Linked DNA regions of Homo sapiens: region 1 is linked to region 2. Evidence: promoter capture Hi-C in human tissues and cell types (Jung and others, 2019). All regions are on one chromosome and are shown on one strand. The core of a region is centred on a gene start or on the middle of the fragment in contact, and the rest is flanking DNA. Distances in the headings are between cores, read along the strand shown. Region 1 overlaps MAPK1 (mitogen-activated protein kinase 1). Region 2 holds the start of YPEL1 (yippee like 1).

The links. Contacts are between HindIII fragments. The study calls those that stand out against the background at their distance.
Region 1: a contact is called between a fragment that was not itself captured here and the fragment with the promoter of YPEL1 in region 2, in 2 of the 25 tissues and cell types used here (aorta and mesenchymal stem cells).

Annotation. Positions count from the first base shown.
Region 1 is chr22:21,805,176-21,812,499 of GRCh38, reverse strand. MAPK1 (mitogen-activated protein kinase 1) reads left to right here. Exons shown (of 9, transcript NM_002745.5): 2 at 4,654-4,836; 3 at 6,461-6,650. Among named protein-coding and RNA genes, the nearest start is that of MAPK1, 59 kb to the left of the region's middle. RefSeq lists a silencer at 755-969. The HindIII fragment of the contact is 4,729 bases long and covers 1,251-5,979 here.
Region 2 is chr22:21,733,579-21,740,304 of GRCh38, reverse strand. It overlaps YPEL1 (yippee like 1), which reads left to right and starts at 4,511. Exons shown (of 5, transcript NM_013313.5): 1 at 4,511-4,690. RefSeq lists silencers at 3,943-4,792, 4,813-4,862. The HindIII fragment of the contact is 30,524 bases long and covers 1-6,726 here.

The DNA.
Region 1 (7,324 bases), core at 2,366-4,865, 73 kb before region 2:
AGGTATAATTGACAAATACAAATTAGTATATGAAACTGAGGTGGAAGTGCTGGAAAAATAATTAGTATATATTCATGATATACAACATGATGTTTTGATATATGTGTATATTGTGAAATGATTAAAGCAAGGTAATTAACATATCTGTCATCTCACATACTTTTTGTGGTGAGAATGTTTAAGATCTAATCTTTTAGTAATTTGCAAGTATATAATACATTATTATTAACTGTAGTCACCATGCTGTAGGATAGAGCTCTAGAACTTATTCATCCTGGTTAACTGAAACTTTATACTCTAACAAATTATCTGCACATTTCACCCTATCCCCGCAGTGTTGTGCTGTTTTGGTTACTATAGCTTTGTAGTGTATTTTGAAATCAAGTGATGTGAAGCCACCACTTTGTTCTTGCTCAGGATTGCTTTGGCTATATGGGATCTTTTGTGGTTCCATATATGAATTTAAAGATTACATTTTCTGTTTCTGTGAAAAATGCCATTGGAACTTTGATAGGGATTACATTGACTCTGCAGACCACACTGAGTAGTGTAGACACTTTAAGAATATTAAGTCAGACCAGGCACAATGGCTCATGCCTGTAATCCCAGCACTTTGGGAGGCTGAGGTGGGAGGATCACTTATGACCAGGAGTTCAAGACCAGCCTGGATAACATAGTGAGACCCCATATCTACCAAAAAGTTTTTAAATTAAAAACAATTGGCCGGGTGCGGTGGCTCACACCTGTAATCCCAGCACTTTGAGAGGCCAAGGCGGGCAGATCACGAGGTCAGGAGATCGAGACCATCCTGGCTAACATGGTGAAACCCCATCTCTACCAAAAATACAAAAAAAAAGGAAATTAGCCGGGCGTGGTGGTGGGCCCCTGTAGTCCCAGCTACTCGGGAGGCTGAGGCGGGAGAATGGCGAGAACCCAGGAGGCGGAGCTTGCAGTGAGCCAAGATGCGATACTGCACTCCAGCCTGGGCGACAGAGCGAGACTCTGTCTCAAATAAATAAATAAATAATAAAAACAATTAGGCATGGTTTTTGGATGCTGAATTGAATTTCTTTGTGTGTGTGTGTGGTTTTTTTTTTTTTTTTAAAGACTGAATAATATTCCACTCTATGTATATGCTACATTTTCTTTATCCATTCATCCATAGTGGACATTTCGGTTGCTTCCACATCTTGGGTATTGTGCGTAATGCTGCACAATGAACCTGCCAGTAGCTCTTAGAGATTCTACTTTGAATTGTTTTGGATATATGCTCAGAAGTGGGATTGCTGGACCATATGGGAATTCTATTTTTAATTTTTTGAGGAATTTCCAAGTGGTTACACCATTTTGCACACTCAACAATAGAGTATGAAGGTTCAAATTTATCCACATCACACTTACGGTTTTCTGTTTGTTTGTTTGTTTGTTTTTAAATAGTGGCAGTCCTGGCTGGTCGTGGTGGGTGGCTCACGCCTGTAATTCCAGCACTTTGGGAGGCCAAGGCAGGCGGGTCACCAGGTCAGGAGATCCTGTAATTCCAGCTACTCAGGAGACTGAGGCAGGAGAATTGCATAAACCCAGGAGGCAGACGTTGCAGTAAGCCGAGATTGAGCCACTGCACCCCAGCCTGGCGACATAGCGAGACTCCGTCTCAAAAAAAAAAAAGGCATAACGTTGAATACACGTTTCAAAAGAAGACATAAGAAAAGATGGTCATCATCATGAATCAGAGAAATGCAAATCAAAACCACAATGAGCTATCACCACACACCCATTAGGACTGACCCCCACTTTTTTTTTTTTTGTTTTTTGAGACTGAGTCTCACTCTGTCACCAGGCTGGAGTGCAGTGGCGCGATCTTGGCTCACTGCAGCCTCCATCACCTGGGTTCAAGCCATTCTTCTGCATCAGCCTCCCAAGTAGCTGGGACTATGGGCGCGCACCACCCCACCCAGCTAATTTTTGTATTTTTGGTAGAGATGGGGTTTCACCATTTTGGACAGGATGGTGTCAATCTCGTGACCTCATGATCCGCCTGCCGTGACCTCATGATCCGCCTGCCTTGGCCTCCCAAAGTGCTGGGATTACAGACATGAGCCACCGCACCCGGCCTTCTTTTTTAATGAACCATCTTTGGATTCCTGTGATAAGAGACACACTTATAGCAAAAACCTGTAGTGTGGTGGTAGTTAGGGACAAAAGGGGTTGAGCAAAACAAGACACAGTTGGTAATGTCAAAGTGATTTTAAAGCATAAATGTTTATAGACACCTGAAAGTTCATGGTATGCCTTATTTACCAAGTATCAACAATAAAATATGTAAAACAAAACCGAGAAATCCAAGGAGAAACTAGCAAGTATGGAATCATTATGGAAGAGTGTAACCCTCTTTGTCATCAGTTCTATGAAAGATAGATTGCATAAACCAAAAAGGCAGCAGAATGGTTAAGCGGAGCAGACAGGAACAGACAAAACTCCTTTTTTTCAAGTGGGACCAGATGAGGATGATCTCATATTTTCTTACTTAAAAGGAGGCAGTTGGCCGGGCATGGTGGCTCACCCTGTAATCCCAGCCCTTTGCAAGGCCGAGGCGGGGCCTATCACGAGGTCAGGAGATTGAAACCATCCTGGCTAACACGGTGAAACACCGTCTCTACTAAAGATACAAAAAATTAGCCAGGCGTGGTGGCGGGGCCTGTAGTCCCAGCTACTCGGGAGGCTGAGGCAGGAGAATGGCCTGAACCCAGGAGGGGGAGCTTGCAGTGAGCCAAGATCGCACCACTGCACTCCAGCCTGGGCGACAGAGCGAGACTGCTTCCACAAAAAAATTTTAAAGAGGCCGGGGGGGAGGGCAGTTATTTCGTCACTGAGTGTTGATACAGTAGAGGGGCACACTGACCATAAACTCCTCTCTCCAAAAATTTTGTTGGATTATAATTTTGCAGAACAAATTATGACCACTTGTGACTGTTAACACTAGAAATTTATAATATTAACACTAGAAAATTGTAATGTTGAGTTTAAACCAGCATTTTATAACTAATCCGTGCTGTTGTTGAACTCTTGTTCTATGATTTGAATTACCAAAATAGAATTTTTTTCTAAAAATATTCCCAATATTGAATAAGCTTGCTTATTATATATGCTTTTTAATACTATGTTAAATTATTACTATTATATATGCTGTTGCCTAACTGAAAATCACTGGCTTAGGGCCTCATGTACCAAACCAAAGCAAAATAAGATTTGAGTAGTGGTTATTTTACTTAAGAAAATATACTTCATTTCAAAGCATTTGGGGCCACCTGTGTACTATATGTTAATGGTGTTGTAGGATAATTGGATCCTAGTAAGACAAAGTTCTCCTCCAGAGCATTATCTTGTCATAGAATCAGACAAATGTATCAATAATTCTTAGGATTAGTAGACTGATAAATATTATAGAAGCATAAACTTTATTTAATTTAGAGACGGAGTCTCACTCTGTCGCCCAGGCTGGAGTGCAGTGGTACAATCTTGGCTCACTGCCACGTGCATCTCCCAGGTTCAAGTGATTCTTGTGCCTCAGCCTCCCAAGTAGCTGGGATTGTAGGCACTTGCCACCATGCCTGGCTAATTTTTTTGTATTTTTAGTAGAGGCGGGGTTTCACCATGTTGTCCAGGCTGGTCTCAAAACTCCTGTCCTCAAGTGATCCAGCCGCCCCAGCTTCCCAAAGTGCTGGGATTGCAGGTGTGAGCCACTGCACCCGGCCCTAGAAGCATAAATTTTAGAATAAAGTTATTTTACTGCTTTCTATTCTAGCACTTACCCCAAGGAAACAAGAAATGTTGTCTTACTGCCTGTCAATGTTATTTGATTGCTTTGGTCAGTGGGCCAGATGTTGACATTTATTAATATGAAAATTTCTTATACACAAGATTGTAATAGAATGTTTATCATAAAGATAGTAGTAATACTCAAGATTCAAATTCATAAAATTGAAGGTATAATTTTTATTATTGCTTTTGCTTATAATTCTGGTTTATCAGACATTAAGGACAACTAGGAAAGAACTGGGCCCCATGTTATTGCCACAAATATGTTTTTTGAAGAATACTTTTCTAGGTTTTGTTATAAAACTACCCAAACATCTTGATTCAGTTTCTTGGGGGAAGAAATGGTCATGTTGTTTTGCAAGTGAGAGAAACAAAGTTAATAGAAGTAATCAAGGTGTTCTCTTGGGTCCATTTTTGTTAGGGATAAAGATGTACAGTTGTAGGTTATTTGAATGTTTCTTCTGTGTCAGAGGAATTTGATACAACAGTAAGAAGGTGTTTCAGAGACAGAAGTGATTACTCTCACCAGAATGCAGTTGCTGTTTAAGACAATGGGAGAATGCTTGTTTGTGTATTTCTGGGTTTATAAAGGCAAGACTTTCACCCAGTTAACAGGGCTAGGTTCTCTGTTAGTTTTGAGAGTCACTGTGTGCTCTCTCATGTCAGTTGCATCCATCCTCCCTAGCTTGAGGCCTTTTTGTGGATAATATACATGCTGCCTTCACGGGTATGAAACAGGTGTTTACACAGTGTTAAAAATATAATACTTTACCAACTTGCCTTCTTCAAATATTCTGAGGGCTGTTTTTAATGCCATCTCTCTCTCTCTTTTTTAAGCTCTGCTTATGATAATGTCAACAAAGTTCGAGTAGCTATCAAGAAAATCAGCCCCTTTGAGCACCAGACCTACTGCCAGAGAACCCTGAGGGAGATAAAAATCTTACTGCGCTTCAGACATGAGAACATCATTGGAATCAATGACATTATTCGAGCACCAACCATCGAGCAAATGAAAGATGTGTATCCTTTTTAGGCAACTGGCCAATTCCACTGCTTGGTAACCTTGTTGAGTAAATAGAACTTGAAATTTCCTGAACTTAAAGGAAAAGTGCATTAAACATGCTAAAGGGAAAATCGTAATCTGTTTGCTATTTACTCCCTAAGTCTAGTCATGGAAAATCTTGGTTAACTCTGTTTGCAGTCATGTTTCTTCTGTCCAAGGGATGGTTTGTTGTGATGATGAAAAGGTAAAGGGAAGATCAGTAGTAGACTAAGAAAGAGGGTGCCCTGGCTATCTACCTGGTGAAATCAGGACTGTCCTGATCTTAAGAGTCAGGTTACCACTTTAGGTCTCAGTTTCCCCACCTTTAAAATGAAGGAACTGGTCGTCATGATCTTTAAGGTCAACTGAGGTCTGAAATTATGTGATTAACTCTGACCAACATTTAGAAATCTGGACTGAACAGATCTAGAGGATGCTGCCTGGGTAAAGGCTCCATTTGAAAGATAGAGAGGTTAAGTATACTGAAGAGGATCTGCCAGAAGGGAAAGGGTTATACAGCACTCCTACCAGTTTACCCAATTTGTATTCCGCCCCTCCAGGGTGCGGGAGCTCGCTGTTTCTAGGCAGCCCTTTCCATTTTTAAACAGCTCTGTTAATAAGTTGTAGTGATATTTGAAGTGAAATGCCTCCTGCCACTACCACCTGTTGGTCCTGCTTTACTTTTTGCCATGAAAATAAGCCTCTCTCAGATGACAGATTTTTAAATCATGTTTCCTTTGAATCCCATGCTGCGCCTCCTATAGCATAAATCTGTAAGAAACAGAGACTAGTGTTTACACAGAAGTGAGTAAAAGAAATGTAGAAATACTGCTAATGAAATAATACTATGATGAAGTTAAAGGCTAAATGCTTTAATAATTTAATTTCTGTGAGAAAGAAAGTAGCCATAGCTAAACTTTTAGGTAGTTAAGTACGTGACCAGGCAAGAAAGCATGAGGAGGAAAACTAGCACAAACCCCTTCTTAGAACGACTTGCCCATAGTCTTACTTATTTAAGATCTTAACAGTAATGGAAGAGTCAAGAAAATAGACTTAGGGTTGGATTTACTAGTAAGAGTATGTTTCTAGACCTGTATTTCTGGAAGTTTTATGTTTGGCTTTTGAGGAGCTTGGGAGAGGAGGGGAGCGGCAACAAGAAGTAAAAAGAATAGTGACATTACAGGTTACTGGACCAAACAGAGGAGGGAGTATCTGCTACTTACAGGCTAACAGTGTTTCCAGCAAACCTTGGAGGGGGTTCGTTGATGGTGGACAATTTAGAGAGCAAAGAGGTTGAGACTTCAAGATTGACCAGAATTTCCCTAACAGCCTGTTTCAGATCTCAGTCTAGGCCCATAGCCGCATCAGTCAGATGTAATGCTGGAATGCCTGCCATCTCACAGGACCTAAAAGGAGTTAACGACTTCAGATTCTTTCCATGAAGGAAACCAAGTTTTCCTCAGTTTCTTCTTTCCTTTAAGGGCTTCATGGTGTAATGATGGACTGTTTGGGAAGAGAGTCAAGAGAGGATGCATTTTTGTTTTCAATGCTTTGCTAAATGTGACCAGCTAATTGGTGTTTTACCTTAACCTGTGCAAACAGATATATAGTACAGGACCTCATGGAAACAGATCTTTACAAGCTCTTGAAGACACAACACCTCAGCAATGACCATATCTGCTATTTTCTCTACCAGATCCTCAGAGGGTTAAAATATATCCATTCAGCTAACGTTCTGCACCGTGACCTCAAGCCTTCCAACCTGCTGCTCAACACCACCTGTGATCTCAAGGTCAGCCAGGTTATTTACTATTAAGGTGATATATATTGAAAAACCCTTTCACTGAAGCATAGTTATATTTGTCATTATTCATATTTTAAATTACACCAGAAATACCCAAAAACATGTTTATGGCAAAAATGCTAATAAAGTGTGGTAGTCCTCTTCTTCTTCCTTATCCCATTGCTCCTTTCTCCCCAGAGATACCTTTTTTTTTTTTTTCTTAAAGACAGAGTCTTAGTATGTTGCCCAGGCCGGTCTGGAACTCCTGGGCTCAAGCAGTCCTCCTTTCTTGGCCTCCCAAAGTGCTGGGATTATGTATGTGGGCCACAGCACCAGGCCGTGATAACTAACTACTATAACAAATTGGTGGCCAGTTGCGGTGGCTCACGCCTGTAATCCTAGCACCTTGGGAGGCCAAGGTGGGCCTTATCACCTGAGGTCAGGAGTTCAAGACCAGCCTGGCCAACATGGCGAAACCCCATCTCTACTAAAAATACAAAAATCAGCCGGGCGTGGTGGCATGCGCCTGTAATCCCAGCTACATGGGAGCTGAGGTAGGAGAACCGCTTGAACCTGGGAGGCGGAGGTTGCAGTGAGCCGAGATCACACCACTGCACGCCAGCCTGGGTGACAAAGCAAAACTCTGTCCTAAAAAACAAAGTGTATTTTCTCCCAAAGTATTT
Region 2 (6,726 bases), core at 3,262-5,761:
GAGGAGGGTTTGTGCTGAGGAACACACTTTTTTTTTTTTGAGACAGAGCCTTGTTCTGTTGCCCAGGCTGGAGTGCTCACTGCAGCCTCAACTTCCCAGGTTTAAGCGATCCTCCCTCCTGAGCCCCCCAAGTACCTGGGACTACAGGCGTGTGGCCACCACACTTGGCTAAACACACACACACACACACACACACACACACACAGAGAGAGAGAGGAGGTTTTACCATGTTGCCCAGTCTGGTCTTGGGCTCCTGGGCTCAAGGGATCCACCTGCCTCAGCCTCCGAAAGTACTGCCATTATAGGCATGAGCCACTGTGGTTGGTGAGGAACACACTTGATCAGTAGCAGGCTCCATGTGGTCTTCCACTGCCAATGAGCTTGGTGGAGATCACCTGTCAGGCCAGTGGAGGGAAGGGAGGAGACCTAAGGGCTGAACTTTTGGGGCCTCCAACATCAGGAGGGTGAGGGCAGGTGGGGAAATGGAGGCTGGTGAGGAAGAGAGTGGAGCCCCAGAATCTAAGTGAAGAAAGTGTTTTTAAAAAGCGCCCCACTGTAGGAAATGCTAGTAGGACCATCCAGTAAGGTATAGGCTGAGCCCAGATGTGACGACATGATGTTTTGCGACATGATGTTGGAGCGGTTGGGATGGAACCCTGAGAATGGGAGGTGGGCATGGGAGGCGCCCAGGCCAGGCCCTTCTGTGTCATCTTGCCCTGAAGAGTTGCAGAGCAGGTGGGCATAGCCAAAGAGGGTACGTGGAGCTGAGAGCACGGCTCCTACCCTGATGGGGCAGCCCAGTAAGCCGTGGGGGGCAGGACTAAGGGCGAGCCACGTGTTCATGGCAGCAGGCAGGGCAGATGTTTAGGATGGGATGTTTAGCAGTGGGGGCAGGGAGGAGTCCTCTCCCATCTCTATGTTCTCTGTAAAGTTGGACACAGAGTTAGCAGAGGGGAGGAGGCATGATATCATCTTCCAGGATGGTGGAACCTGCACAGACCCGGAGGTGCAGCAGGCGGAGGGTTTTCAGGAGGACTAGGCTTCCCTAGAAACTGGTGTCCCCAAAGTAAGCAGCCAGCTGCAGTGGTGCGTTTCCCAGTTGGGGGAGGGGGCTGAATTTCTCCAGGACAGGCGAGGGTGGGGTGTGGGAAAGGGGTTAGGGAGGAAGTGGGCATGGGGGAGGGCAGCCCCCAGTGGGAGGGCATGCTGAGGCATGGAGCTGGGACGCTAAAGGGAGGGAGCCCTGGAGCTTGAAGGTGGTGTTCCTGAGTGGGCTGTGGGAAAGTGGATTATAAATGGTGCGACCACAAGGCAGGCGGGGGTGGCAGGCTGCAGGCCTGGCTGATGGTGCTGCCCAAGGCCACCCAGAAGGTCGTGCCTGGGATTTTGTTAATAAAAACAGAGGAGGATAGAAATGTTAGGGCATTGCCCAAAATAAATAAGAGTATGTATTAAATCATGAAACTTTTTGTTCATCCAAATGTGTACTAGATCACAATGTAGACTTTCTTTTACTACTTTTATTGTGGTAAAATATACATAACAAAATTCACCATTTTAACTTTTTTTTTTTTTTTGAGACAGAGTCTCACTGTGTTGCCCAGGCTGGAGTGCAGTGGTTCCATCTCGGCTCACTGCAACCTCCAACTCTTGGGTTCAAGCGATTCTCTTGCCTCAGCCTCTGAGTAGCCGGGACTACGGGCACACACCACCACGCCCAGCTAATTTTTTTTGCATTTTTTTTTTTTAGTAGAGACGGTGGTTTCACCATGTTGGCCAGACTTGTCCTGAACTCCTGACCTCAGGTGATCTGCCCACTTGGGCCTCTCAAAGTGCTGGGATTATAGGCATAGCCACCACACCCGGCCCATTGTAACAATTTTAAGGGTGCAATTCAGTGGCATTCACATTGTTGTACAGCCATTCCCACTACCAATTCCAAATTTTTTTATCACCCCAAACAGAAACGTTGTACAGATAAAATGAAATAGGTCATGTGGTCACGTGGTCATAGTTAACAACACTTGACGCCACCAAGTCCGCGGAAAGATGCTCAACACCACTAATCACGAGGCAAGTGCAAACCAAACCCATCATGCACCAGGCTGGCCACTGTCAAAAAACAGAAAATAACAGTTGGTGAAGATGTGCAGAAACTGGAAGCCTTGTACACTGTTGGAGAGAATGTGAAATGGTGCAGTTACGTTGGGAAACAGTATGTAATCGCCTTAAAAAATTCAACATAGAACTACCATATGATCCAGCAACTTCACTTCTGGGTATATACCCAAAATAATTGGAACCAGGGGTGCCAAGGGATGTTTGTACCATCAAGTTCATAGTGGCATTATTTACAATAGCTAAAGTATGGAAGCAGCAAGCCAGGTGTCCACTGACAGATGCGTGGAGAAACAAAATGTGGTATCTACATACAATGGAATATCATTCAGCCTAAAAAAAGGAAGGAAACTGTGACAGTGCTACACCATCGGTGAACCTTGCAGACATTATGCTAAGTGAAATGAGCCACAAAAGTCACAGTAAGCCACAAAAAGACAAATACTAGATGATTTCACTTATGTGAGGCACCTAGAGCAGTCAAGCTCATAGGGACAGAAAGTAGAATGGGGTGGTGCGGGGCATGGGGTAGAAGGAAACGGGAGTCATTGTTTCTTGAGTCCAGAGCTTTACTTAGGCAAGATGAGTTCTGGAGAGGGATGATGATGATGGTTGCACAACATTATGAATGTATTTAATACCAGTGAACTGTACACTTTAAAATAGTTAAATGGGGCCGGGCGCGTGGGCTCATGCCTGTAATCCCAGCACTTTGGGAGGCCGAGGCAGGCGGATCACTTGAGGTCAGGAATTCGAGACCAGCCTGGCCAATATGGTGAAACCCCGTCTCTACTAAAAATACAAAAATTAGCCGGGCCTAGTGGCGGGCAACTGTAGTCTCAGCTACTGGGGAGGCTGAGGCAGGAGAATCGCTTGAGCCCAGGAGGAGGAGGTTGCAGTGAGCCAAGCTCACACCACTGCACTCCAGCCTGGGCGACACAGCGAGACTCCTGTCTCAAGGAAAAAAAAAAAAAAAAAAAAAAAGGCAACATCCAGCCACAATCTAAGTTATGAGTCAGGTGTACATTTAGCGACTTGAAGAGATCTTTACATACACAGTGGGTTGCAGAAAACAAGAGAATACGTCCAGAGGACGCTGATAACAATGTTATATACATTGTGACCTCAATAGAGGTTTTGTTGTTTTCTTGGTTTTTTTCTTTTCTTTTTTTTTTTTTTTGTTCAAGAGGAAGGGTCTCGCTCTGTCACCCAGTCTGGAGTGCAGTAGCGCGATCATGGCTCACTGAGGCCTCGACCTCCTGGGCTCAAGTGATCCTCCCGCCTCAGCCTCACAGGTAGCTGGGACTACAGGTGTGCACCACCATGCCTAATTTCTTTCTTTTTTTTTTTTTGGTACAGTGTCTCACTATGTTGCCCAGGCTGCTCTTGAACTCCTGGGCTCAAATGATCCTCCTGCCTCGGCCTCCCAAAGTACTGGAATTACAGGCGTGAGCCACCACACCCAGCCTTCAAATATATATATTCAAATAATACATATCTATTTTCAAATAATATATATTTTTTTAAAGAAGGGATACGGAACCAAGAAAACAGTGACATTAGAGGCGTGGGGGTGGCGCAGGCTGCCGGGGCGTCGGGAGCACTACCCAGAGGAAGGGGCTTTCTGTAGGGTCTGACGCGGCAGTCCTGGAGCAGAGCGAGGGGCCAGACGCAGACCCGGGGGGTCCTCCGTGGCGAGGGGGTCCTAGGGGGTTAGGTCCTTGGGTTCAGAGAGGGTGGTGGGGACGGGACAGCACGGACGACCGCATTCTGGGGACCCGGCCGCGGAGGGGTCCGGCCAAGGCGGGCCCTGGTCAGGCGCACACAAGCTCGCCTCGGCCTCCACGTCCGTCCCCTACAACGCGGCCGACCGCGCGGACGGGCGGTACGTGCACGGCGCTGGACGAGGAGGCTGCGCGCAAGCTCGCCTCAGCCTCTGGAGCTGCGGGCCCTGCACGCCCTCGGCCCATCCCCGCGAGCCGGAGGAACGAGTGACCACCACCGCCAGCCCCGCCGGCCGAGTGTCCCTGCCCAGCCAGCCTGCGTCCGAGCGCGGCGCTCCTCGCGGAACCCGCCCCTGCTCTCGCCCCGCCCCGCGCGGCCCCGCCCCCGTGTCCCTCGGCCCTTACAGGCTGGCTCCGAGGCCGCGCCCGGCGGGTCAGCCAATGGGAGTGCGGCGCGCCCCGCGGCACGTGGGCTCCTGCCCGTCCCGGCCGGGTGCGAGCTGGCGGAGCTCCTTGGCCCGGAGCGCGCGGGGCGGGGGCGCGCGGGGCAGGCGGGACGCGGGGCGGAACGGAGGCAGGATGGGGGCGGGGCGCTGGCGACATGGCGCGCTGATTGGCCGGCGCCGCGCTCCAAGGCTGTTAACGGCGTCTGGGCCGGGCTACGGCTCCAAAACAAAGGGCAGGCGGCCCGCGGGGCGGCGGCGGGAGGATGCCTCGCGCCCTGCCTAGGCGTTAACGGCCTCAGCGCGTCCCGGGCCGCGCCGGGAACGCCTGAGAGCCGAGCCCGCGCTGACCGGGGCCCGGGCCGGATGGGCGCTGCGGGCCGGGGCGCGGACCGCGGAGCGGCCGTGAGTACGGGCGGGCCTGGCTGCAGCTGCGCGGGCGGTTACTTTGTGGCCACCCAAGGATACTGTGGCTGCGGGCGGGCCCGGGAAGCACCTGTTGGGCGTCCGGGCGGGCGGGGGCGCGAGCAGGGCGGGCCTGTGACTTTTTTGTTCCGTTTTGGATTTTGATTTGTTGATATTGGGCTCACTCCGTTTTGGCACAGACAACAACGCCTAATCTTTGATTCCCCCGCCGTTTCTTCTCTCCACCTCCCCCGCTGTCCCTCTTCTCCCGCCCCGCCGTGAAAAGATAGGGAAAATGGACAAGATCCCTGATTTTTGGATTTTCCTTCCTTAAAAAATACAGCCTCAACTGGGCAAGGAAATGAGGGCAAAAGAGGTCTCCTAGGAATGTTTATCAGAAAGGCGGAAAAGCTTTTCAAGTAGCCACATAAAGATCATGACTAAAATGGAGCGTCCTCGGTATTTACCACTTGTGGCATAGGTTTCGTTAACAGAGATTGCAAAAGCCTGAGCTTCAGAGATCTAAACAGGGTCCGCCTCCCCCATGCTTGGCTCTGATTGACATCTTTGATGTCCAAATTATGTGCTGAATTCTAAGGATGGAAAAAAGGCTGAGATTCTATTTTAGGCAGATAATGAACATGGAAGACATCAATTTCCCCGCCCCACGCTTTTTCTGTTCCGTTGCATTTCTTCTTCCTCTATCTAAAACATACCCACCTTAACCTGATGTTTCCTTTGCTAAGAATGTTATTCTTCCCACCCACCAGCCCCTGACACTCCTAATTCCCTACTCAGGTCCCAAGACTAGGTTTACCACCACTGGGGAGACTTTCCAGGCACCTCACCTGAGCAAGCTATAGATGTGACAAATGTTTGCTGAGCCCCTGCCAGGTGCCAGGAGCTGTGCTTAATCCTGATGTCATTTTGTCTTACAATCATGCACTGGTCCCCCTCAGGGCTCTTGCGAGGCAATGGTAGTGGCATGTTTGAGGAATAAGAGGATCTCCAGGACCTTCATGGTGTTTCCTCTTGGGCCCTACAGGGTAGAGTCTCATCTACTTGTGGGAACCCCTACGGGTTGGGCCCATATTGAGCATTTATATAATAACTGAGCGCTCTTAATTACCAATCTGAGCAATAGTCTTCTTTTAAAATAACTTCTTATTTTGGAAAAACTTTAAATTTACATAAAGGTTGCAAAGATAGTACAGACAATCCCAATATATCCTACACCCAGTGCTCCCTATCCTTACCCCATCCTACACTGCTGTGGTACACTTGCCAATATGAAAAACACCTGGGTGCATTCTTGTCACTAAACTGTGGGTATTAAGCCTTTTCACCTTTGAATCACTGTAATTTATAAAGCCATTTCTCTGTTTGTTTCTTTGTTTGAGACAGGGTCTCACTCTTGCTCAGGATGGAGTGCAGTGGCACAAACACGACTCACTGCAACCTCCACATCCTGAGCCCAAGTGATCCTCTTGCCTCAGCCTCCCATGTAGCTAGGACTACAGGTGCACACCACCATGACTGGTTAACTTTACATTTTTTTTTGTAGAGACTGGGGTCTCACTTAATGTTTCCCAGGCTGGTCTTGAACTCCTAGGCTCAAGTGATCCACCTGCCTCAGCCTCCTGAAGTGTTGGGATTACAGGCTTGAGCTGCTATACCTCACCATAAAGCTATTTTCTTTAGGTTGAGAGCAGTGTTCCTCTAACATCTGTTCTTGATTCTTGCCTGTCTTCACTAAGTTCCACCAGCACCTGTGTCAAGGGGCAGGGATGCAGGAAAAGGGAAAGAGGCTACCCTATAGGTTTTTTCCTTTTTTCTTTCTTTTTTTGTTGGTTTGTTTTGGTTTGTTTATTTCAACAAACAAATTGGTTTTTTGAGACAAGGTCTCATTCTGTCACCCAGGCTGGAGTATAATGGCACTGTCTCCACTCACTGCAGCCTCAACCTCCTAGGTTCAAGCCATCCACCTGCCTTCTGAGTAGCTGGAAACACAGGCACACACCACCATACCCAGCTAA